7 separate regions of the Homo sapiens genome follow, and regions 2, 3, 4, 5, 6 and 7 are each linked to region 1. Evidence: promoter capture Hi-C in 16 types of primary human blood cells and fetal thymus (Javierre and others, 2016). All regions are on one chromosome and are shown on one strand. Each heading gives the region's core, a stretch centred on a gene start or on the middle of the fragment in contact. The rest is flanking DNA. Distances are from core to core; before and after follow the strand shown.

Region 1 (3,165 bases), core at 265-2,764:
TCGCATCAATTTACTGACTATTTCTTTCCTCACTTTAAGCACTGGAATGTTGACTGTCTTTTTAAAAGCTGTTCTATCAAGTTTTGTCATGCCTCGGACATCAGAAGGTGGTGAAAACAATTCAGTCTCTCTCTCATGTGTTTCTGTTTCTGGCATGGTTGAGAATCTTTTTCTTTGACCCAATAAGAAAATACCAGGTGCTTCCAAAAGCATCTGTGTCAGGGATGTCCAAGCTACTGGAATCAACGATTTTGATTCAGTTATGCTATGGCTTTCCAGTTTCAGAAATCTTCCTGAGAATCCAAATGGCCTCCATAAGATCCTTAAAAAAAAAAAAAAAAAATTCACACACGACAGCTTTTGAGAATAAAAATCTAAATTCTACTATCTCAAATAACGGGCTAAATGCTGACAAATAAAACGTTTAGTGATGTGTGGGAAGTATACTATCTTTTCCAGACTAGGATGACTTCTTCAGGAAGTCGTATTAGTGGTAGATAATAGTGGTATATATTAAATTTACACCTTCAACCCATCTGCTCCCAGTTCAGAGGGCTTAGTGATCCATTAGCCATACTCAATGATCCTCTTCACCCACAATTTTCTAGATAATACATTTGGGATTGGAAGACTGAAGTATGAGTTAAATGGTCATCTGTAAATGAAATAGTCATTATACATGACCATTACTAGTGGTGATATTTATTAGGATAGTCTCATGGGTGCTTATTGTGTCAGATACTGCGCTAAATGCTTTATGTACATTATGAATCTTGGGAGGTGTGCAGTATTGCACCCTCATTTTGTAAATAAGTAAACTAAAGCTCAGACGTAAGGTAACCCACCCAAAGTCTCCCAGCTGATAAGTGGCTAAACATGGATTAAAACCTAGTTTTGACTGACTTCGGTGCTTGTGTTCTTAATATATTGCTCTGTTGTTTGTTTTCGATGCTTTACTGCCACATGTCCTGCCTTTAACTAGAGGCTTCTGTATTTTGAGGACGAGAGCTTTGCTGATTGTTATATGCATAGTATCAGTTATTCACTGTCTTCTAAAATACCAAAGAATTTACTTGTAAGGGGAAAGGGCCCTGTCCCAGAATCCTGTAAAGCAACGAAGTCTAACTTCACCGTCAGAGATCAAATTGGTTCTAGCAGCTGACCAGCTGGGTGACCCTGGATAAATTACTATAAGTCTCGGTTTTCCCACCAGTAAAATGTGGCGAAAGGCTTTTGAAACATTCCTTACTATCCAGAACCTCGAAACTAAGCTCAGCACCTAGGCGGGTGGGTGACCTCGCGATGTTTCTGTGCCCAGGCAGCACATGGCAGAGAGCAGCCCTGGGCGGGCTGGTACCTCCCCTGGACCATTAGCCCCTAACGCGGCCGCCACCTCACCAAAGCACCATTCCAATTCCCCACGTCGCTCTGCAGCTGGATCCGCGAGCCGACCCCTCACCTCCCGCTCCGGTACCGATCGGATGTGGGTCGCGGGTGGATGGGCGGGTCTTCTATGACATCATCACTGTTCGCCGCGAAGAGGGCGCGCGTCATCAGATCAAGTCGACTCGCTCCTCTCCTTCCAGGCCCTGGTGAAGTACGGAATGCCGGAAGGGCCGGGCTCAAAGCTCCGCCTCTGGCGCGACCGACGACTGGAGCGCAGGGCAGGGGTAGAGGCTCGTAGATGGAACTGGTAGTCAGCTGGAGAGCAGCATGGAGGCGTCCTGGGGGAGCTTCAACGCTGAGCGGGGCTGGTATGTCTCTGTCCAGCAGCCTGAAGAAGCGGAGGCCGAAGAGTTGAGTCCGTTGCTAAGCAACGTAAGTGGGCTGTGTTCGCTTCCCCGCGCTGACGCCCTCCGGCTTCCCTCAAGTGCCTGCCAAATAAGACCCAGAAAAGGAGGACCGCACCGGGACAGGGGAGATGCTGGAGCCTGAACCCTGGGGGATGGGGTCTGAAGGCAGCCGCCGAGATTCAGATGAGATTGGCGCAGTTATGAACGTGATAGCAGCCTAGCATACTCTAGAAAGAAAAGATGAAAAGCGTCGGGTGGAAGAGATGCAGCGTTGAGTGGAAGCTGCGAACATGATGGGATGAGCGGCCCTAGGATTATGTACTCACTGCTGTTAGTTAGTATTTTTGTCACCTTATTTTCTCCACCAGTCTCGTGAGGTCTTTGCAAGAGTCACAGGATTTTCCTCTTCCGACTTAGTCATGGGGGGAGGGAAAATAATAAACATTTTAATACAGAAATTCTTAGCGGTAGAATGGAAGTGGCTTGGTAGTAAGTGCATAGCACGTTCCTGACCCTAAAGCCTGTGCAGTGGGCACTCCGCTTTTTAACTCGAGTCCTAGACACTGTTCCCAGGACTTTGTTCCCGGTGCTGTTTGTGGGGAGGGGGATGTTTTCAGGGATACTGCCAGAACAACGTGAATTGCTTCTGTTTATAATATTGTCATTGCAAGATATTCCTGACCATCCTTCCAGTTTGGTAGAACTAATTCATTAGATATATAAGTAGAGATTAGTTGTGCAGTCCTAGTAATTGAGGAGAAACAACTGCCCACAGCAGTCCCAGGTTGACTCAGCAATTCTTTAGTAATCACATGAGCTGAGGCCTTATCCCTCCTCTCTCTCCCCACTCCATTCCCATCCTATCTTCATCTCTTGCAGTCACAAGGTTAGTCATGGCCCTTCCTGAACTCTGCCTGTCTTGTGTACTGGTGGAAATCATTTTCCTAAGAAACCCTAGATTCCTGGAGCTGCAGTAGTGGGAGGTGGGAAGGAAAGGAAAGGAAATTAGTGTTGGTTAAGCAACGAGTGTGTCATACAAACCCTGGTGGTTTGCAGCTTTTTTCCATAATCTTTCATTTATGGAATTTCTTTACGAAATTTTAACTTCACCGTCCAAACATTTAACACTACTAAATTTGTGTGCTTACAGGAACTTCACAGACAGCGATCCCCAGGTGTTTCATTTGGTTTATCAGTGTTTAATTTGATGAATGCCATCATGGGAAGTGGCATCCTTGGCTTAGCTTATGTTTTGGCTAATACCGGTGTCTTTGGATTTAGGTGAGTCTTCATATTTTAGCATCAAATTTTTTTTTCCATTTTGATAATATACGGAGAAGTAGAGAGATAGATTCCAGAAGCTGCTATTATA
Region 2 (3,165 bases), core at 256-2,755, 250 kb after region 1:
TTAAAGAGCATGAAAAATATTGTTCTAAGTGTCAGCACTACCTTCATGACTCATTAAAATCTTTTAAATACATTTATCCAGGACCAAAATATACATCTTCAAGCCAACGATTATATTATTCCTTGGCCACACCTTCCAGCAAGTCATCATTTCTCTAACACAAACTACCCTGGCCCCAGAGAAAGTCAAGAGAGGAAAGTATGTGTGGGATGTTGTGGGTCGATTACATTAAAAGAATGTGACAACTTGATGTGGGTTTGTGATATTTCAATTGGCTTATACCAGGCGAGGGTGACAGATAGATTTATGTGGGGCAACTGTGTCCTGCTCCTTTTGGTTTCCTTAATCACAAAAATGTGGCAGAAAACTGGATGTTGTGGATAGACCATGGAATTATGTGGTTTCCACAAAGCATTGTATTTGGCAGTGGTTGGGAGACAATGGTCGTTCTCTAAAGATTCTGGGTTCTCTTAATCATGAAGGCAAACATTTGAGCATTCAGTCGTTCCTAACAAAGGCCTAAATATTATTATATCCAGGGCTTGTCTTGTCCTATGTGCTGAGTGAACCACTGGCTGATGATAGAATAGGCTCCCCCACCCAAAAATATTCTACCCACCACCCCCTTCCACTTCCCATTACCACCATCATTCCTTGCCTTCCCTTCCCACTACCAAATCTCTCTCAGATCTCCTTGGCTGCCACTCCTAGGCTTTTCACAGTGAAAGTCCTGGTGTACAATACATCTACTGAGATGGGCAATGCCTTGGTCCATTGTCGCCATTAACCACCTAAATTTGTTTATCAGATTAACTTAGCCACTTTGCAAGGCCCGGAGAGAATAAGAGGACAAGTGATTTATTGATTTTTGGTGGCAGAGAAGAAGAACCTAGAACAAAAGAATCTAAATAAATTGGCAGTATAGAACAGCAGTTAATCATGTGGTTCTCAAAGTCAGACTGCTTTCCTCGCTTACTCACTCTGTCATCTCCAAGAAGTTTCTTAACTGTTTTTCCTGCATTGGTACAACAGGAATGACAATAATAAGAGTACCTGCCTCATAAGATTGCTGTTGTGGCTGGGCGCGGTGGCTCACGCCTGTAATCCCAGCCCTTTGGGAGGCCAAGGCAGGGGATCACGAGGTCAGGAGATCGGGACCATCCTGGCTAACACGGTGAAACCCCGTCTCTACTAAAAAATATAAAAAATTAGCCAGGCGTGGTGGCGAGCGCCCGTAGTCCCAGCGACTCGGGAGGCTGAGGCAGGAGAATGGCCTGAACCTGGGAGGCAGAGCTTGTAGTGAGCAGAGATGCGCCACTGCACTCCAGCCTGGGCAAAAGAGCGAGACTCTGTCTCAAAAAATAGATAAATAAATAAATAAATAAAGATTGCAGTTGTGAGGGTTAAATGCGAACATTTTTATGTCCATGCATAGGAATGCCTGGCATATATTAGGTTGGTGCAAAAGTAATCGCGGTTTTTGCCATTACTTTTAAATGGCAAAAACCGTGATTATTTTTGCAGCAACCTAATAGTAAGTGCTTGATAAATATGCCGTCTTGAAGAGAGACCTGAGCAGCCAGATGTTAGCATGAGGGCCCTGGGGATTTTAATCATGTGCAGAGGGTAGAGAAACATTCCTGAGTAAAATATATTTGAAAACAAAGGCTCATAATCGTTTTGCTAGCAATTTGCTTCTACCCTAAGTGTGGCACCACAAACTTTTCTTAACCCTCCCTAAATACCTTCCAGGTTTCCATCAGTAATAAACAAAGGGATTGTCTGCTCCAATTTCTGCAGGGAGTATCCATTTACATTGTCCCAAAGGAAGGAGGACTCTTGCATTTTCTGAGTCATGGGTCAAATGTTGTCAAGTTTTTCATTCATTATACAGTAGAGAAGAGGCTAGGATCATGTCCACCCTGGGTCACTATAGTAGCTTGGGTGAAAAGTAACTTGGCCATTGAATCCCGAGGAGAGAAGAAATGCTTGAGTCCAGTCATTTTTACAAATACAAGGACAGAAACAAGGTCGAAAGTTGAAGTGTAGAAGACAGAGAGAAAAGCAATTTTTAAAGTCTAGACAGCATATTAACAACAAGGGCTTAATGTGTTGCGCTCTGTTTATAGGAGCTTTTTGCTGACAGCACGGAACCTGAGCCCTCCTCCCTCCTCATAGCAAGTTCCCTTCTGCTGTGTCAATAGAAGCCACCTCTTCTCAATCCTTGGAGGATTGGCGATCAGAGTTTGTACTTGGTGTCCACAGAACAAAGGGAAACAGAAAAAGGAAGCACATCTTGAGGACTTGCAATATTGGATAGAAGATGAATCTATCATACCAGTCTGATAGCAGCTCACAGTTGTATTTTAGCCTCCCAAGATTTTTTTTCTAGTAACAAATGAAAGGATAGATGAATAAGAGTTCATCAAACCTTTTCTATATGTATTTTGCTTTCCTAAGGAAAGCAGTTCGGGAAAGAGTTTTTCTTTCCTTTTTAGTCATTTTTCTAAAGTTACAAAATGTGTCAGGTACCGTGGCTCATGCCGCTAATCCTAGCACTTTGGGAGGCCAAAGCAGGAGGATTGCTTGGGCCCAGTAGTTCAAGACCAGCCGGGGCAACATAGTGAGATCCTCTCCCTTTAAAAAAAATTTTTTTTAATATAAAAAATATATAAATAAAATTATAAATGACTTTAATTAGAGTATTGGGGCAGTGGCTGGTGGGAATGTAATACATTTCACCTTTCTGGAAAGCAATTTTACAGTATGTAACAACAAGCCATCAAAATAGGCATATCCTCAACCCAGAAATTCCACTGGTAGGAATTTATACTATGGGGACAGTAGCATAAATATTTAGATAAGAGAACATTCTCATAGTATAATTTATAATAACTCCCCAAATGGAAATAATCTAAATACTCCAAAATAGGGGATGTGTTAAATAGAATACAGTGAGAGTGCCAAGCAGCCACTAAACACCTTCTTTAGAGAAGTTTTTCATAGTATTGATATACAAGGCAGTGTTTAAGATTCATTGAGGGTTGGTGGGCAGGCGCTAAGTATACTGTACAATGGGCTCCTGAACTTGGAGATAGATTGCAGGAAGGACTGACCTCTTGGGGTAAAAAAGGCAAGAAGGCTTTTAGCTGCCTGAATAAAATT
Region 3 (3,165 bases), core at 306-2,805, 230 kb after region 1:
CGCAAATCAAATGTGATTATGAAGTGACAACTGATTTTTTTTTTGAAATGTCCCTTCTTTGAAATGTTACCTGGAGAGATGAAATGTTTGATTTAATCAGTGTTTAATTACAAAGTATTTACTGAATTCTCTTATTTAAAAGAATTGCCTTTAAATACTGTGATCCCTTTCATTTATTTTTTAATTTTAAAACCATTTTTAAGTGTATGGTTCAGTAGTGGCAGGTATTTATTTATTTTTTTATTCAGTGAATATTTATTGACATTTTCCAGATTTGTGGCACTGGGGAAAGTACTATAAGGGACAAAAAAAATTATAAGACAGTCTTCACATTCAGTCAGTTCTCAGTGACTTTGTAATAATTGTTTAATTTTGAAAGTGTGCTTAACTTTTTGTAAGCAACTAAAAATTATTCAGCAACATGTTTGAGTAAATGAGGTGAGAATCCAAGCTGGATATTACCATTTTCTATCAAAGGTGAGACATAATCCCCAAGTTATGAGATTGAATTCCTTGACTAGTTCTGAATATAATTTTAAAGGTGAAAGTCTTAAGATTCTCAATGATTCCAAAAATCATAGAGTCCTGAAGAGCGCGTCTTTAAGCGAACCAGGCATTTTCTATAGCTTAAATAAGGTTTCACACACATATATACCCATATTTTTAACAACGATTGATAAAGTAAACAATAATCTTAAAGCACTATTGACTTTATAGCAGCCTTTTGTTCATTAAGAATACACAAAGTTCAATTACCATTGCTATGATCTGAATTGTGTCCCTACAAAATTCACTTGTTGAAGACCTAACCCCAATATGATGGTATTTGTAGTTGTGGCCTTTGGGGGATAATTAGGTCGTTAGATGGGATTAGTACCTGCTATGGTTTGAATGTGTCCCCTAAAGTTCATAAGTTGGAAACTTAATTCCCAATGCAGCGGTGTTGAGAGGTGGGATCGTTAAGAGTTGATTAAATCATGCATGCTCCACCTTCATGAACGGATTAATGCCATTATCAAGGGAATGGCTTTGCTATTGAGAGAGTGGGTTTGTTATAAAACCCTCCTCTTGCTCTCTCATGCTCTCTTGCCCTTCCATCTTCCGCCATGGGATGATGTAGCCCAAAGGCCCTTGCCAGATACCGGTGCTATGCTCTTGGACTTCTCAGCCTCAAAAACTGTAAGAAATGAATTTTTTTTCTTTATAAATTACCCAGCCTGTGGTATTCTGTTACAACAATACAAAATGGACTAAGACAGTGCCTTTATTTAAAAAAAAAAAAAAAAAAAAAAAAGCTACTCATCCACCCAGGAAGAAGGCCCTCATCAGCAACTCAACTATACTGGCACCAAGATCTTGGATTCCAGCTTCCAGAACGGTAAGAAATAAATGTCTGTTCTTTAAGTCACCCAGTCTATCGTATTTTATCATAGCATCCCGAGCTGACTGAGACAACCACCAAGAGTAACTATCATGAAGCAATGAGTAGGGACAAGCCTCATTTTAGGATCATTAAAGGATCCTTATACAGCTTCAAATTACAGAATGTCAGACATAGACTGGACCATAGTGATCATATGATCCAACAGTTTCCAAACTCAGGGTGCCATAAGCCTTTGTGCAAACTTTTCATTTTTTCTTTTAGATGCAGGGGATTTGTTACATGGGTATATAGCTTAATGGTGGGGATTGGGTTTCTACCGTACCCATCACCCAAATGTTGAACATTGTACCCAACAGGTAATTTTTGAGCCATCATCCCCCTGCTTCCCTCCCTCCTTTTGAACTCCCTGGTGTCTATTATTTCCATCTTTATGTCCATGTGCACCCATTGTTTAGCACCCACTTATAAATGAGAACATGCAGTATTTGATTTTCTGAGTTAGTTCACTGCAAATGTTTAAAATGCATCTTAGGGCCAGGTGTGGTGGCTCACGCTTATAATCCCAGCACTTTGGGAGGCCGAGGAGGGTGGATCACGAGGTCAGGAGTTCAAGACCAGCCTGGCCAACACCGTGAAACCCTGTCTCTACTAAAACAAAAACAAAAAACAAAACAAACAAACAAACAAATATATATATATATATATATATATATATATATATATATATATATATATATAAATTAGCTTGGCATAGTGGCAGGCACCTGTAATCCCAGCTTTTCAGGAGGCTGAGGCAGGAGAACTGCTTGAACCCGGGAGGCGGAGGTTACAGTAAGCCGAGATCGTGCCACTGCACTCCAGCCTGAGTGACAGAGCTAGACTCGGTCTCAGAAAAAATAAATAAATAAAATGCCTCTTGGACACCAGGACGTACAGCTTGGTGAGTAAAGCACATGTTGCATTCCAGCTTCCACTTGCCCTCTTGGGCACCAACTACCCACCCATATCTATCAGCCTTTCCCCAACTTTACCTGATGATACAAATTACCTGGGGCCCTGGTGTAAAACAAAGATTTGCTGATCACTCCCCTGAAGATTTTGATTCAGTAAGTCTGAACTGTGACTTTGGGATTCTGTACTTATCATGATAACCTTCGTGATTTAATAACCAGACAAAATGAAAAACATTGATTTAGACCCAGCCCTCATTTTACAGATGAGGTCAAGGGGGATGAAGTGACTTTCCAAGTCCCATAATGAGTCAGTGAACATCATTGGAATAAATGTATAGGGGTCCCAAGTGATCACATTAAATAGGCCAAGAGTCCTTTCTCTCTCTCTCTCTCTCTCTCTCTCTCTCTCTCTCTGTGTGTGTGTGTGTGTGTGTGTGCGTGCACGCGTGCATTCCATATTGCCTGGGTTGAATTAGAGAAGCAGAAGCACTATGAATGATATGGAAGGAGGCATTGCATATAGGGATTAGACCACATGCAATTGTGGGAGTGAGAGGAGGAATCTAGCGTTAACCCAAAAGTCCAAGTAAATGCCATGCTGCTGTCTCTGCATCTTGTGTTGGGGCAGCAGTTGGGAATGAAAGCTGAACATGGAGGAAGGCAAACTGGAGCCCACCTGGACAACTGGAACCCATGAGGACAAACTGGAACCTGTCTTTGTCTCTAAACACTTCCAGGCTTGATACTGAATTGCCCTGCAGAAGAAGCTGGTGCCCTTTGCCAGGGAGTGGCCATGATACATGGCCCAGGACTTGGAGAAGCTGAAGG
Region 4 (3,165 bases), core at 666-3,165, 230 kb before region 1:
ACTCAAACTCATGCATAAGATGAAAAAACTACAATATTAAAAATCATTTTGATCTACTTAGAACAATTTTCTCTTTATATTTTATTTTCTAGGGTGCTAGCTTACGATAAAAAGCATCTTTGAATATTCAATAATGATATTTTTCCTGATATTGTATTTGCCACATCTTTATTTTTTATTGATGATATATAAGCAATGACATAGTATTTGGTTTTTGAGGTATAATCAGATGTCAACTAGGAAGCCTAAATGAATTGTATTGTTGATGCAGTGAAATGATTTGTAGGATAACTTATTTTATAGTATTTTTATTTTTCATATTTATTTTTAAAGAAATATAGATTATTTACATGTACAAACAAATATATATATTCTCTACAAAAAGATAAGAAAATTTAAAATTTAACAGACTTTATCAGAAATGTTTGGAGTGTTAGGTTTTCTTTTCATTTACTAAGTTGGAATATGTAAAAAAAAAAAGAATTTTGAGATGAGGACAAGTGATTGTATACCTCACTCAGTTTTTTTAGAACACAAATATGATAGTGGTTATATCATTGAAAATCAATGAAGCCTCCATCAATATGGTGCAGTGCCTCTGCACCACTGATTTATATATATTTAATGAACTTGCTGTTCTAATTTCAGGTAACTGAAGCAAACTGCATCTAGCACTAACTGGTTTACTTATAAACAATTCAGCTCATTAAAATATAAATATCTTGAAATTTACCAATATTAGATATAATTTCTTTATAAATAGTTCTACTGTGTTTACTTCCTGGTGTTAACTGACATGTTTCTAAAAAAATCATCATATTTTGGTACTGTTTCAGATAATGTTACCAAAATATGTTGTTTTATTTGATCTTATTTCTTGCTACTGATCTAGAATGGATTTGGAATAGAAGATATGGGACAAAAAAGCTTTCAAAAGTGATGGGATTTATGAAGTATGACATGCCAGATGCTGTATTTTTGAGATCTATTGGAGCATAAGTGAGGACCAGTTAAGGATCTATTTCTATATTCTTTGGGATTAGGAATATAGTTTTTAATATTTGCATTTTTTAAAAAATGTATTTTAAAATAGATTTATTTTAAGCATGTCTATTATGTTTTATTGAAAAAATGCCACAAGATAATATTAAAAAATGTTTTGACAAAAGAAAAAAATTATACATAATACTTTCACAGAGGAGTTCTTTTAATTTTTATCTTCTTATTTGTATGTGTGTGTGCTGTGTAGTCTCAGCTGCTCTGGAGGCTGGGGTAGGAGGATTGCTTGAGCCCAGGGGGTCAAGGCTGCAGTGAGCTATGAGTGTGCCACTATATTCCAGCCTGGGTGACAGAGTGAGGCTCTGTCTCAAAGCAAACAAACAAAAAACACTTTGGAGAATGCTGTTTTAAGTTTTGACTCAGTAACTAATTTTGTAAGAAATTTCATATTACTCTACCATTGTACTACTTATTATTATTATTTTTTGAGATGGAGTCTCACTCTGTTGCCCAGGCTAGAGTGCAGTGGTGTGATCTTGGCTCACTGCAACCTCTGCCTCCTGGGTTGGAGCAGTTCTCCTGCCTCAGCTTCCCGAGTAGCTGGGATTACAGGTACGCACCACCATGCCCGACTAATTTTTGTATTTTTAGTAGAGACAGGGTTTTGCCATGTTGGCCAGGCTAGTCTTGAACTCCTGACCTCAGGTGACCCACCCACCTTGGCCTCCCAGAGTGCTGGGATTACAGGCGTGAGCCACCGCACCTGGCTTGCACTAGTTATTTATTGCTGTCTAACAAATTATCCTAAAACTAAATGGCTTAAAATAACAAACATTTATTTTCTCACGGTTCTTGTGCATCAGGAATTTGGGCATGGCTGAGCTGGGTAGTTTTGGCTCAGGGTGTCTCATGAGATTGCAATCAAGTTTCAGCTGGGGCTCTATTCATTTGAAGGCTTGACTGGAGTTGGAGGATAAACAGTTGACCATTAAACAACATGAGTTTGAAGTGTGTGTCCACTTATATGTGGATTTCAAAAAACAAAACAAATAAGAATTGAAAATACAGTATTCACAGTATGCAAAACCCCATGTATATGGAGGGCTGACTGTATTAAGCTCACTCATGTGGTTTTTGTCAGGAGTCCTCAGTTCTTTACTGTTATTTTTTGGCTAGAGGTGTCAGTTCTTTGTCACATGGGCCTCTCCTAAGGATTTCTTCAGTGTTCGCACAACATAGTAGCTTTCTTCTCCTCAGGTGGATGATTCAAGAGAGAGACAAACAGAAGCCACGATGTCTTCTATGAACATCATTCAGACACCATCGTTTCTGCTGCATTCTGTTTGTTCAGAGTCCTAAATACAGCTCACATTCAGAGGAAGGGGAATTGGGCTTCCCCTTTTGATGAAAGAAGTATAAAGAATTTGTGGCCATATGTAAAACCACACCAACCACATATGTATATTTATCACTGGAATACCTTGAATCCAAGAGGGCTCCCAGTGATTTTTGTCTCCTACTTTTTATGTCCTTGCTTAGTTTCTCCCTGATTGTATCAGGGTTGCTTGTATAACCAATCGAATATGGTAGAAGTTTCTCATTTCCAAGGCTAGGTCTTTAACAAAGACTTTGTGGCTTTCCATGTGGTTACTCTCTATGTTCTTGGGCAACTTGCTGTCATGAAAGACAGTTTATGTGTCGTCAGCAGCCTTATGAAGTTCCGTGTGGTTAAGAACTGAGACCTTCTACTAACCGCCAAGTCAGTGAGCCATCTTAGTCTTCAGTCCCAGTCCTGTCTTCAGATGACTGCAGCCCCAGCTGATATCTTGACAAATAAGCTGCTCCTGGATTCCTGACACTGAGAAATTTTGTGAGATAATAAATTGTTTATTGTTTTAAGCTGTCAAGCTTGGTGGTGTTTTGTTATGCAGCAACAGATAACTAATAGAATCCCTTCATCTTTATTAAAACAAAAGGCACATTGCCAAAAGCTGTACACATATTAGGGATTTTATTTTTTTTTTAATAATAGGGAGAAATTTCTTCTTTTTTTTTTTTTTTTTTGAGACCGAGTCTCGCTCTGTCGCCCAAGCTGGAGTTGGAGTGCAGTGGCACGATCTTGGCTCACTGCAACCTCCGCCTCCCAGGTTCAAGCGATTCTGCTGT
Region 5 (3,165 bases), core at 406-2,905, 190 kb before region 1:
TTCAGGCTCCACTTCTAATTCTAGTTCTCTCGCTGTTTCTGCCATATCTGCAGTTATTTTCTCCACTGAAGTCAGACCCTGAAAGTCATCTGTGAGGATTGGAATCAACTTCTTCCAAATGCCTTTTAATGTTAATATTTTTTATCTTTTCACATGAATCACACATGTTCTTAATGGCATCTAGAATGGTGAATCCTTTCAAAAAGGTTTTGAATTTGCTTTGCCCAGATCTATCAGAGGAATCATTGTCTGTAGCAGCTACAGCATTATGACATGTATTACTTAAATAACAAGACTTCAATGTCAGAATTACTCCTTGACCCATGGGCTTTTGAATGGATGTTGTGTTAGCAGGCATGAAAACAACATTCATGTCCTTGCACATATCCATCAGAGGTCTTAGGTGACCAGATTCATTGTCAATGGGCAGTAACATTTTGGAAGGAATCTTTTTTTCCGAGCAATAGGTCTCAACAGTGGGTTCAAATATTAAGCAAACCATGCTGTAAATAGATGCGCCATCATTCAGGCTTTATTCTTCCATTTATAGAGCACAGGCAGTATAGATTTAGCATAATATTTAAGGGCTTTATGATTTTTCAAAATGACAAATGAACATTGGTTTCAATTTAGTCATCAGCTGCACTATCTCCTGAAAAGACACCCTTGCCTTTGAAGCTTTGAAACCAGGCATTGGCTTCTCCTCTGTAGCTATGGAAGTCCTAGACGGCATCTTCCAATAGAAGGATGTTTCATCTGCATTGAAAAGTCTGTTTTTCAGTGTAGCCACCTTCATCATTATCTTAGATAGATATTATGGATAACTTGCTGAAGCCTCCATATCAGCACTTGCTGCTTCACCTTGCACTTTTATGTTATGGAAACAGCATCTTTCCTTGAATTTCATGAACCAACCTCTGCTAGCTTCAGACTTTTCTTCTGCAACTTCCTCACCTTTCTCAACCTTTATAGGATTGAAGAGAGTTAGGTATTAGGATCTGGATTAGGTTTTGGTTTAAGGGAATGTTGTGGCTGGTTTGATCTTTTATCCAGACCACTGAAACTTTCTCTGTATAAATGATAAGACTGTTTTGCTTTCTTAACATTGTGTGTCATTGGCGCAGTGCTTTTAATTTCCTTCGAGGACTTTTCCTTTGCATTCATGACTTGGCTAACTGGTGCAGTTGGCCTAGCTTTTGGGCTATCTCAGCTTATGATACACCCTCCTCAGGAAGCTTGGTCATTTCTGTCTTTTGATTTAAAGTGAGAAACCTGTGATTGTTTTTTTCACCTGAACACCTAAGAGTCCATTGTAGGGTTATTAATTGGCCTAATTTAAATATTGTTGTGTCTCAAGGAATGGGAGGTCTGAGAAGAGGGAGAGAGTTGGAGGAACAGTCAGTTGGTGAAGCAGTTGGAGTACATACAACATTTATTAAGTTTGCTGTCTTATATGGGTGCTTTTCATGGTGCCCTGAAACAATTAAAATGGTAACACCAAAGATCACTGATCACATAACACCATGTCAGATATAACGATAATGAAAATGTTTGAAATATTGTGAGAATTACCAAAATGTGAAACAGAGACGTGAAGTAAGCATATGCTGTTGGAAAAATGGTGCCGATAGACTCATTCCATGGCAGCGTTGCCACAAATCTTGAATTTGTAAAAAATGAAATATCTGCAAAGCCCAATAAGGCAATTCGCAATAAAATGAGGCATGCCTGTAATTGTCAGTTCTCCCAGTCTGCAGTATTATTTCTGAAGCCCTTCATAAAGTTAGACAGACTTTTCCCTCCAATTTCTAGCTTTTACCTTGTTTCCTCAACCATATCCCTGAAGGGGCTTTGAGCCTCTAATGTCTTAAATCTTAACATCCAGCACTATCACATGCACACCCTTTTTAGCTATCAGGATGAAACTGTTCATCAGTGGCAGAAAGAATGGCTACAGAATAGTCCACATATTTCAGAAAATGTTCTTGGCTTAGAGCATTTGGAATATGATGTGTTATTAACACATGCTGGCTAGGAGTATGTAGTATAATTTGTTGAGCTGTTGCTCATTGGCTGAAAGCTTACGATAGTATTCAAAGTATGCTTTTGTAATAGAGTTACTTTTTCTTTCTTTTTTTTTCTATTTTCACCATAGTATATGAATGTTTATGCACAAAGTTGGTGTATCTGACACAGACAGAAGAATATTGGTTTTGAGTATGTTGAGTTTGAGGTAACTTGTGGGATATCAAAGAGTAATTGTGCAATGGGCAGTGTGTAATAGGAATTTAGGAGAGATTTTTAGGCTAGAAATAGATACTTAGGATGATTATTTTCATAGGTCATTGTAAAAATTGTAAGAATAAGATAGAAGGAGAAAGTGTAGAGTATGAAGAGGACTGTAAAAGGGAAATAAATCTTGGGACCCCCAAAATCACTAAGCTAAAGGGAAAAGTCAAGCTGGGAACTGCTTAGTGCAAACCTGCCTCCCATTCTATTGAAAGTCATTCCTCTGAGGCTCATCTGAGACAAATGAATCTCTGATTGCTTCCTCTGCCCTATTGTTTATGTAAAAATGCAGATTCACTGAGCCAGACTAAATTGTGTATTCAGTGGAAGGCTGATCAAGGACTCAAAATAATCCAACCTTTTGTCTCTCATCTACTTCTAACCTGGAAGCCCCCACTTCGACTTGTCCCACCTTACTGGACCAAACCGATGTACATCTTACACATATTGATTATTAATATAAAATGTATGTCATGATTATCAATATAAAATGTATAAAAGCAAGCTGTACTCGACCACTTTGGGAACATGTCATCAGGACCTCCTGAGGGTGTGTCCTTAACTTTGGCAAAATAAACTTCCTAAATTGACTGAGTCCTGTCTCAGAAATATGGGATTCACAGGGTAATGGTGAATTCTTACTAGTTATATGATTTTAAGCCAGTTATTTGACTTCTCCATGCTTAGTGCCCTCATCTATGTAGTAAGGAAAATAATATCTACATCATATCGCAAAAGCCCTAATTAATGTTATTTTCTTTCTATGTTCCTTCATATATTTCCAACCTCTTTCTAGAAAATATTTATAGTGTTATTCCATAAAGGATTTAAATTTGGCTTAGGAGTTTTCTGGCAAAGGGGCAAAAAGGAAAACTG
Region 6 (3,165 bases), core at 197-2,696, 190 kb after region 1:
CGCCTGGCCTAAACTATTTTCTTGACTCAGTCTGTGGAATTGTTACACCAACAGAAAATGACTAAAACACACTGTGTTTTCACTTTGGTGTTAGATACTGTTTAGCATTATGTTATTGAGGTCTGTAATTTAGAGCTGAAATATTCAGATGCCAACATGTCAGGAGATGAATTTGGAATCAAGTGCAATTCTCCTAATTGCTAATCAAATTCAATGTTATCCCCTTAAAAACCATTCCTAAGCCATACACACTTCAGCTGAACTTAAAGGGTTAAAGGACGTCTGCCAGATTTCAGGAGAATTCTGTTGATCTCAACCTTTAGACTCTTTAGTACTAAAATATTTTGGAAGTTTCTACTTCACTGAGTGACATAATTTACACCTTTCATTCTAGGGTTGTCTTTACTGAACCACACAGTGGTGTTCTTATGTAGACAAAGCTACTGGAGTTTAGAAACAGGAAGAGCTAGAAACTCGCATTTTAAAGCTTACCCAGTGGGGTATTTCCTTAACTTTCCAAATTCTGACATGTGTTAGGTAGTCAGGAAAGAATAATGAAATTCCCCAGGAAAAGCGTTCCATAAATGGCAGCTGTTAAAATGTGGTTTTCTAGGTAGCTATGGGCCTGATTTCCATCCCATTCTTCTTACCTCATGCAGGGCTGGTCTTAGGTTGCTTTTGCAGAGACAGATCTAGGGTCCTGCAGGAAAGCCAAAGCCTTCCAGAACAGCTCAACAATAGCTCAGCGGCTCTCCAGCACACCGCTGAGTCTCCTTCTGAGAGTGTGTGTCGGTGTCACACAAGAGCTATGCTAGTTTTCAATCGCTGCTCTCATCGGAAATAATGCCAGCTTCAATTAAGTCCTGTCAGCTCAGTCAGCACCATCTGATGAGGGGAAGGGGAGGAGGTACTTCTTCAGTGGAAAGAAAACACTAGGAACCACAACAGAGATACAAGGCCTAGCAAGGAGCCTTAAGTAAGAAAGGATAAGATCAGTGGTGTTGAAGATGAAAAAGGACAAGCGATTTCCGGAGGGTCCATCAAAAGTAGCTGCACAGTGTAGAGTTGTCAAGAAATTTGATTCGGCCCTGAAGGCCTGCAGGGGTGAAGAGGAGTTTGAGAGGTTCTGGTCCTGGGGCCCAGAGGGGAGTGGCAGATTTGAATTATGGGTTCACACCTGTAGCCTGTGGTCGCCAAACCATGGCTGAGGGAGAGATGTGTGGGAATTAAAAGATCCAGATAGTTCTGCTATAACATGATACATGCATTCCTAAAACTCACTGTGTTATGCAAAATTGCACAATAAAAACCACAGGCTTAGAGAAAAGACAGGGTCAGGGGCACAGTACCTAAACACTTTGTTGGTAATATAAAAAAGATAGGAACTTAATAAAAATGATAGCACAGTTTTGTGCATGTTAAATAATGAAAAAAATGTAAATACTACAATAAATATGGCACTTTATCTTTAAAAATACCTGCCATTTGCTGATGGAAGAGGGAGCTGAGAGGGTTGCTGCTTGTGTTAGGATGAAGTAGTAGAAGAAAGATCACCAACATTTTTGATTTTTTGCAGCCTTAAAATTCTGAAATGTGGGCCATTTGAAGCATGCATTTATAATGGATATCCGTTTCATCAAAATTGAAAATTTGAAAATGTAGCATTTTCTTCTTTAGTTAATTTCTGTATCCCTGCTGGAAATTCCTTTGCAGTTTTCTCATCCACACTTGAGGACTTCACTCAATAGCTGAAGTCTTTGGAAATTGTGGTGATATTTGAAATCACCAAATCAGCCCCTCATAGAACAAAAGGTGTCATTTCTGCAGAATGTGGTAATTTCCATTAAGGTTTTTGCACGTAGATAGTGCTTTCTCTTTGTGAGCGAGGTTGCCCTTATTTTTCACCACCTAGTTTTCGGTTTCAACAATGCTCATCTTTCCATCTCTTCTATGTCTTCATGCCTTTTTTTTTTTTTTTTTTTTTTTTTTTTTTTTTTTGAGACGGAGTCTTGCTCTGTCACCAGGCTGGAGGGGTGCAGTGGTGCAATCTCAGCTCACTGCAACCTCCGCCTCCCAGGTTCAAGCGATTCTCCTGCCTCAGCCTCCCCAAGTAGCTGGGACTACAGGCACTTGCCACCATGCCCAGCTAATTTTTGTATTTTTAGTAGAGATGGGGTTTCACCATGTTGGCCAGGATGGTCTCGATCTCTTGACCTCGCCTATAATCCCAGCACTTTGGGTGTCCAAGGTGGGTGGATCATGCCTTATTCTTATTGATTTCTCAGCACTTGAACTTATTCCATCCACAGACATTTCTTTTATTTCTATGGTCTGTTGCTTGGGAGATAGCATAGGTTCTCTTGATTCTCTCAAAATGCTTTACTTCAATTTCCCCCCTCAATACACAAAGCTTTTCTTTCCCATGCCCTGCTTGTGATGCTTAGACATGTTGGAGATGTTGAATGAATTCTTTTTAATACACAACACTTTACAAATGTGAAAGAATAGGAAAATATAACCTCGTAGGATGACCCAGTTGGTTGTGATAAGTAGATTAGTTAGAATAACACATCTGCAAGGTAGTAGGGCAGATGCGTGGAATATGTGCATGTGGCATTTTGTGAATCCTGACAAGACTCAGTTCAGCTGGGTGCCATCTTCTATGTTAATCTAGTTTTCTCTTGCAGATAAAATTGCCTATGAGAAACTTGAATTATGTTCACATTGTCCCCAATACTTTAATTCAATCACAATAAATTCACATTTTAAAAACAAGTGTTAATAACCAACTGTATATGTACCTCTGTTCATGTATTTTCTCATTTGATCATGTTAATAATTCTGGGAGGTAGATAGGAAAGTTAATATTCCCATTACACGGATGGAAAAAACTGACTCTGAGGAATGTCCCACAGCTTGGAAATGAGTCTGGAAATACCAGAAGTTAAGATAAGAGCTCTGACCACGTTTAAGTCCCTGTTCCTACTAGTTCCTAAAGCCAGTTCAACTCACTGTCTTCTGCAAGTTGGGTGTTGTGAGCCAAGGAATTTTCTTCTTTTGCTTAAAGTAGTTTGAGGTGGGTTTTTGGGTTGTTTTGTTTTGTTTTGTTTTGTTTGAGACAGAGTTTCACTCTTGTCACCCAGGCTGGAGTGCAGTGGCACTATC
Region 7 (3,165 bases), core at 230-2,729, 130 kb before region 1:
TTATTAATGAGAGGATTTCCAAATACTGTTTCAATTTCTTTACTAATAATAAGCCTATTCACACTTCCTTTTTCTATCCCCGTTTCTTTTTCCTTCCTCTCTTTTCCCTCCCTCTCTTCCTTTCCTCCCCTTGCCTCCCCTTCCCCATTCTCCTATTCCTTTTTCTTTTTCCTTCATTCCTTGTCTTGATATTTTGAGTATTCCTAGAAATTGGTCAGTTTCTTCTAAGTTGAATTTCTGTAGGGTCAGGATCACGTTCACTCTTTTATTTCTTATTTTGGTAGTTTTGTTCCTTCTCTTTTTTTTCCCTTGGCACATCAACCTAGCGGTGTGACAGTCTTGTTGATCTTTTCAAAGAATCAACCTTGGTTTTAAGAATTTTTAAAAAATTTTTTTTGATTTCCATTTCATTGATCTCCATTCTAATATTTATGGTTGTCCTTCTGCTTATAAGCTTTGCTCTTCTTTTCCTAATTTCTTAAGGTGGAAACTTGGGTTATTTATTTGAGGTCTTTCTTCTTTTCTAAAAATAGGCATTTAAAGCTATAATACCTCTACATACTGCTTTTGCTACAATAATATGTTGTATTTTCATATTCATACAATTGGATACATTTTTAAATTTTTTCTTGTGATTTCTTGTTTGACCATGGATTATTTAGAGGTTGTTGTTCTAATTTAATTCCACTTTGGTTTGAGGGCATGCTTTGTATGATCCCAATTTTTAAAATTTACCGTTACTTATGTTATGGCCAAATATATTTTTTATTGTGGAGAATGTTCCACAAGTACTTGAAATTTTATTCTATATTTGGGAAGAATGTGTTAGATGTTAGTTACATCATGTTGCTTGATGGTTATGTTGAAGTCTTCTGTGTCCTTACAGATTTTCTGTCTAGTTTGTCTATCAATTATTGAGTGGAGTTTTGAAATCTCTGACTATTATTGTTGAATTGTTTATTTCTCTCTCAATTCTGTCCAGCGTTGCTTCATGTATTTTGAGACTCCTTTTGTATGTTTATAATTTTTATATCTTCATGATATTGACCCTTTTATCATTATGAAATGCTTTTGTCTCTAGTAACAGTTTTTGTCTTAAAGACTTGTTTTATTTGCCGGGCACGGTGGCTCACACCTGTAATCCCCAGCACTTTGGGAGGCCGAGGCGGGCGGATCATGAGGACAGGAGATCGAGACCATCCTGGCTAACACGGTGAAACCCCGTCTCTACTAAAAATACAAAAAATTAGCTGGGTGTGTTGGCGGGCACCTGTAGTTCCAGCTACTCAGGAGGCTGAGGCAGGAGAATGGCATGAACCCAGGAGGCGGAGGTTGCAGTGAGCCAAGATCGCACCACTGCAGTCTGGCCTGGGTGAAAGAGTGAGACAACGTCTCAAAAAAAAAAAAAAAAAGACTTGTTTTATTTTAGTACAGCTACTTCAGCTCTCTTATGGTTATTGTTTACATTGTTTATCTTGTTTCACACTTTTGCTTTCAACCTATTTTATATCTTTGATTCTAATGTGTGCTGGATGTTTTTCATTTGGATAGTCTTTGTTTTTATAGTGTTCAAGCTATTTACGTTTAATGTTTGTTTTGTATATTTCTCATGGTGCTTTTTGTTCTTCTCTTCCTCATTTATTGCTCTTTTTTGTGTTAAATAGATATTTTCTTGTGCACATTTAAATTATTTTCTTTTTACTATGCATATTTTTAAGTGTTTTTATATTGGTTGACCTAGGGTTACAATATGCATATTGACTTATTACAATTGACTTCATATTAATACTAATTCAGTGTTAGTAATATGTAGAATATTTAATTCTGTATAGCTTCATTCCTTTTCCTCTCCTGGAGAGTGCCATTGTCATATGTATTATATTTTATATGCTGTAAGATTAACCATACAGTTTTACAGGTTTTTTTTTGTAGCTGTTTTGTAAATTTGTTAAGAGGAATAAAGAGAGAAAAGTTTTTATTCAGTCTTTTAGATTTGTCTATGTAATTACCTCTTGAGTATTCTTCATTTCTTTGTGAGAATTTGAGTTACTGCTTGGTATCATTTCCTTTTAGCCTGCAGGACATCTTTACTATTTTTACAGATTCCTCAGTCTTTACCTGGGAATGTCTTTATTCTGCCTCAGTTTTGTAGGGTAGTTTATTTGGATAAAGAATTCTTGGTTTAGTGTTTTTCTTTTAGCCGTTTGAATATATCGTTCCACTACCTTCTGACTTCTATGGTTTCTGATGCTAAGTCAGCTGTTAGTCTCATTGAGGGTCCATTGTGTGTGATAAGTATTTTCTCTTTTGCTGCTTTTAAGATTTTCTCTTTGTGTTCATCTTTCTGTATTTTTAGGGCCCAGCAGGGCTTTAACTTTACTAATTTTGTCACCCTTTTTGGGCTTTAGCATGAACTGGTAGTTTAGATTTTCATTGTGTTTTAAAAATAGTTACAGCCTGAATTTATTTTTATATGATTCCCTCAAGTTTTATATAATTTTCCTCAAGCTTTTATTGCCATGTAATTCAATAATACCTCTCTGAGGAATGACTACTTAAGCATCTTTGTTATAAGAAATGGTGATACCGTGTTAATTTTTTTGTTTTACTTCATGTTGTGGCGTTATGTACTGTTGCTTTCAGATTTTTTTCTTGCTTCATGGGATTTCATAAACATATCCCCTATAGATGTATTTACTCTATATATGTCACATAAAAACACATATAAAAATAAGGCTTATAATAATTAAAGTATTGACTTTTCTGGAGGACTATATAATCTTAATAAGATGTTTTCCTTTTGATAAATATTGAATGATAATCTTTAAGACTAGGTAAAAGATACCATAGTATATTTAGTATTTGCATTGAGACATGTATTAGTCTCTTTAAGAGTTAATGTCTATAAATATTTAACTCTGGACTATGTCACTGTCAAGTAATATTTTGGGCTAGAGTTCCCCACTGAGTATCTAATTTTGTTGCCTTATTCTTTTAGAAGTGTTACTGTGAGCAATAGCCAGGCAACTGAAAGAAAGAAGGTGAGTGGGACCCAAAAAGAAGGACAAAAACAGATGGAAAGGAAATAAAATAATAAGAAATTTCTTAAACAGTGTTTGTTTTGGATAGTTTTCTTGTTAAGCACATGGAAATACTTTGCACATT

The links. The method cuts DNA at HindIII sites, captures the fragments that hold promoters and counts their contacts. A CHiCAGO score of 5 or more calls a contact.
Region 2: a fragment that was not itself captured here is called in contact with the fragment with the promoter of TRMT5 in region 1 in 1 of 17 cell types (M2 macrophages); the score reaches 6.4 in M2 macrophages.
Region 3: a contact is called between a fragment that was not itself captured here and the fragment with the promoter of TRMT5 in region 1, in 1 of 17 cell types (M2 macrophages). The highest score is 6.6, in M2 macrophages.
Region 4: a fragment that was not itself captured here is called in contact with the fragment with the promoter of TRMT5 in region 1 in 12 of 17 cell types (erythroblasts, total CD8 T cells, naive CD8 T cells and 9 more); the score reaches 10.8 in erythroblasts.
Region 5: a contact is called between a fragment that was not itself captured here and the fragment with the promoter of TRMT5 in region 1, in 1 of 17 cell types (endothelial precursors). The highest score is 5.8, in endothelial precursors.
Region 6: a fragment that was not itself captured here is called in contact with the fragment with the promoter of TRMT5 in region 1 in 1 of 17 cell types (endothelial precursors); the score reaches 6.1 in endothelial precursors.
Region 7: a fragment that was not itself captured here is called in contact with the fragment with the promoter of TRMT5 in region 1 in 1 of 17 cell types (total B cells); the score reaches 5.0 in total B cells.

What each region holds. Positions count from the first base shown.
Region 1 is chr14:60,979,565-60,982,729 of GRCh38, forward strand. TRMT5 (tRNA methyltransferase 5) reads right to left here and starts at 1,515. Exons shown (of 5, transcript NM_020810.3): 1 at 1,399-1,515; 2 at 1-322. The coding sequence starts at 1,409. SLC38A6 (solute carrier family 38 member 6) reads left to right here and starts at 1,681. Exons shown (of 16, transcript NM_153811.3): 1 at 1,681-1,818; 2 at 2,944-3,074. The coding sequence starts at 1,714. RefSeq lists an enhancer at 1,405-1,784. The HindIII fragment of the contact is 5,504 bases long and covers 1-3,165 here.
Region 2 is chr14:61,226,237-61,229,401 of GRCh38, forward strand. It overlaps a transcript of PRKCH not described here. Among named protein-coding and RNA genes, the nearest start is that of TMEM30B, 54 kb to the right of the region's middle. The HindIII fragment of the contact is 9,935 bases long and covers 1-3,165 here.
Region 3 is chr14:61,208,041-61,211,205 of GRCh38, forward strand. It overlaps a transcript of PRKCH not described here. Among named protein-coding and RNA genes, the nearest start is that of TMEM30B, 72 kb to the right of the region's middle. The HindIII fragment of the contact is 9,130 bases long and covers 1-3,165 here.
Region 4 is chr14:60,751,297-60,754,461 of GRCh38, forward strand. All of the region lies in intron 1 of MNAT1 (MNAT1 component of CDK activating kinase), which reads left to right. Among named protein-coding and RNA genes, the nearest start is that of MNAT1, 18 kb to the left of the region's middle. RefSeq lists enhancers at 2,080-2,359, 2,770-2,819. The HindIII fragment of the contact is 1,980 bases long and covers 926-2,905 here.
Region 5 is chr14:60,787,820-60,790,984 of GRCh38, forward strand. All of the region lies in intron 1 of MNAT1 (MNAT1 component of CDK activating kinase), which reads left to right. Among named protein-coding and RNA genes, the nearest start is that of MNAT1, 55 kb to the left of the region's middle. RefSeq lists an enhancer at 2,263-2,792. The HindIII fragment of the contact is 845 bases long and covers 1,234-2,078 here.
Region 6 is chr14:61,173,931-61,177,095 of GRCh38, forward strand. No RefSeq gene overlaps it. Among named protein-coding and RNA genes, the nearest start is that of TMEM30B, 110 kb to the right of the region's middle. RefSeq lists an enhancer at 362-863. The HindIII fragment of the contact is 1,923 bases long and covers 486-2,408 here.
Region 7 is chr14:60,846,009-60,849,173 of GRCh38, forward strand. The region is part of intron 6 of MNAT1 (MNAT1 component of CDK activating kinase); the gene reads left to right. Among named protein-coding and RNA genes, the nearest start is that of MNAT1, 110 kb to the left of the region's middle. The HindIII fragment of the contact is 2,054 bases long and covers 453-2,506 here.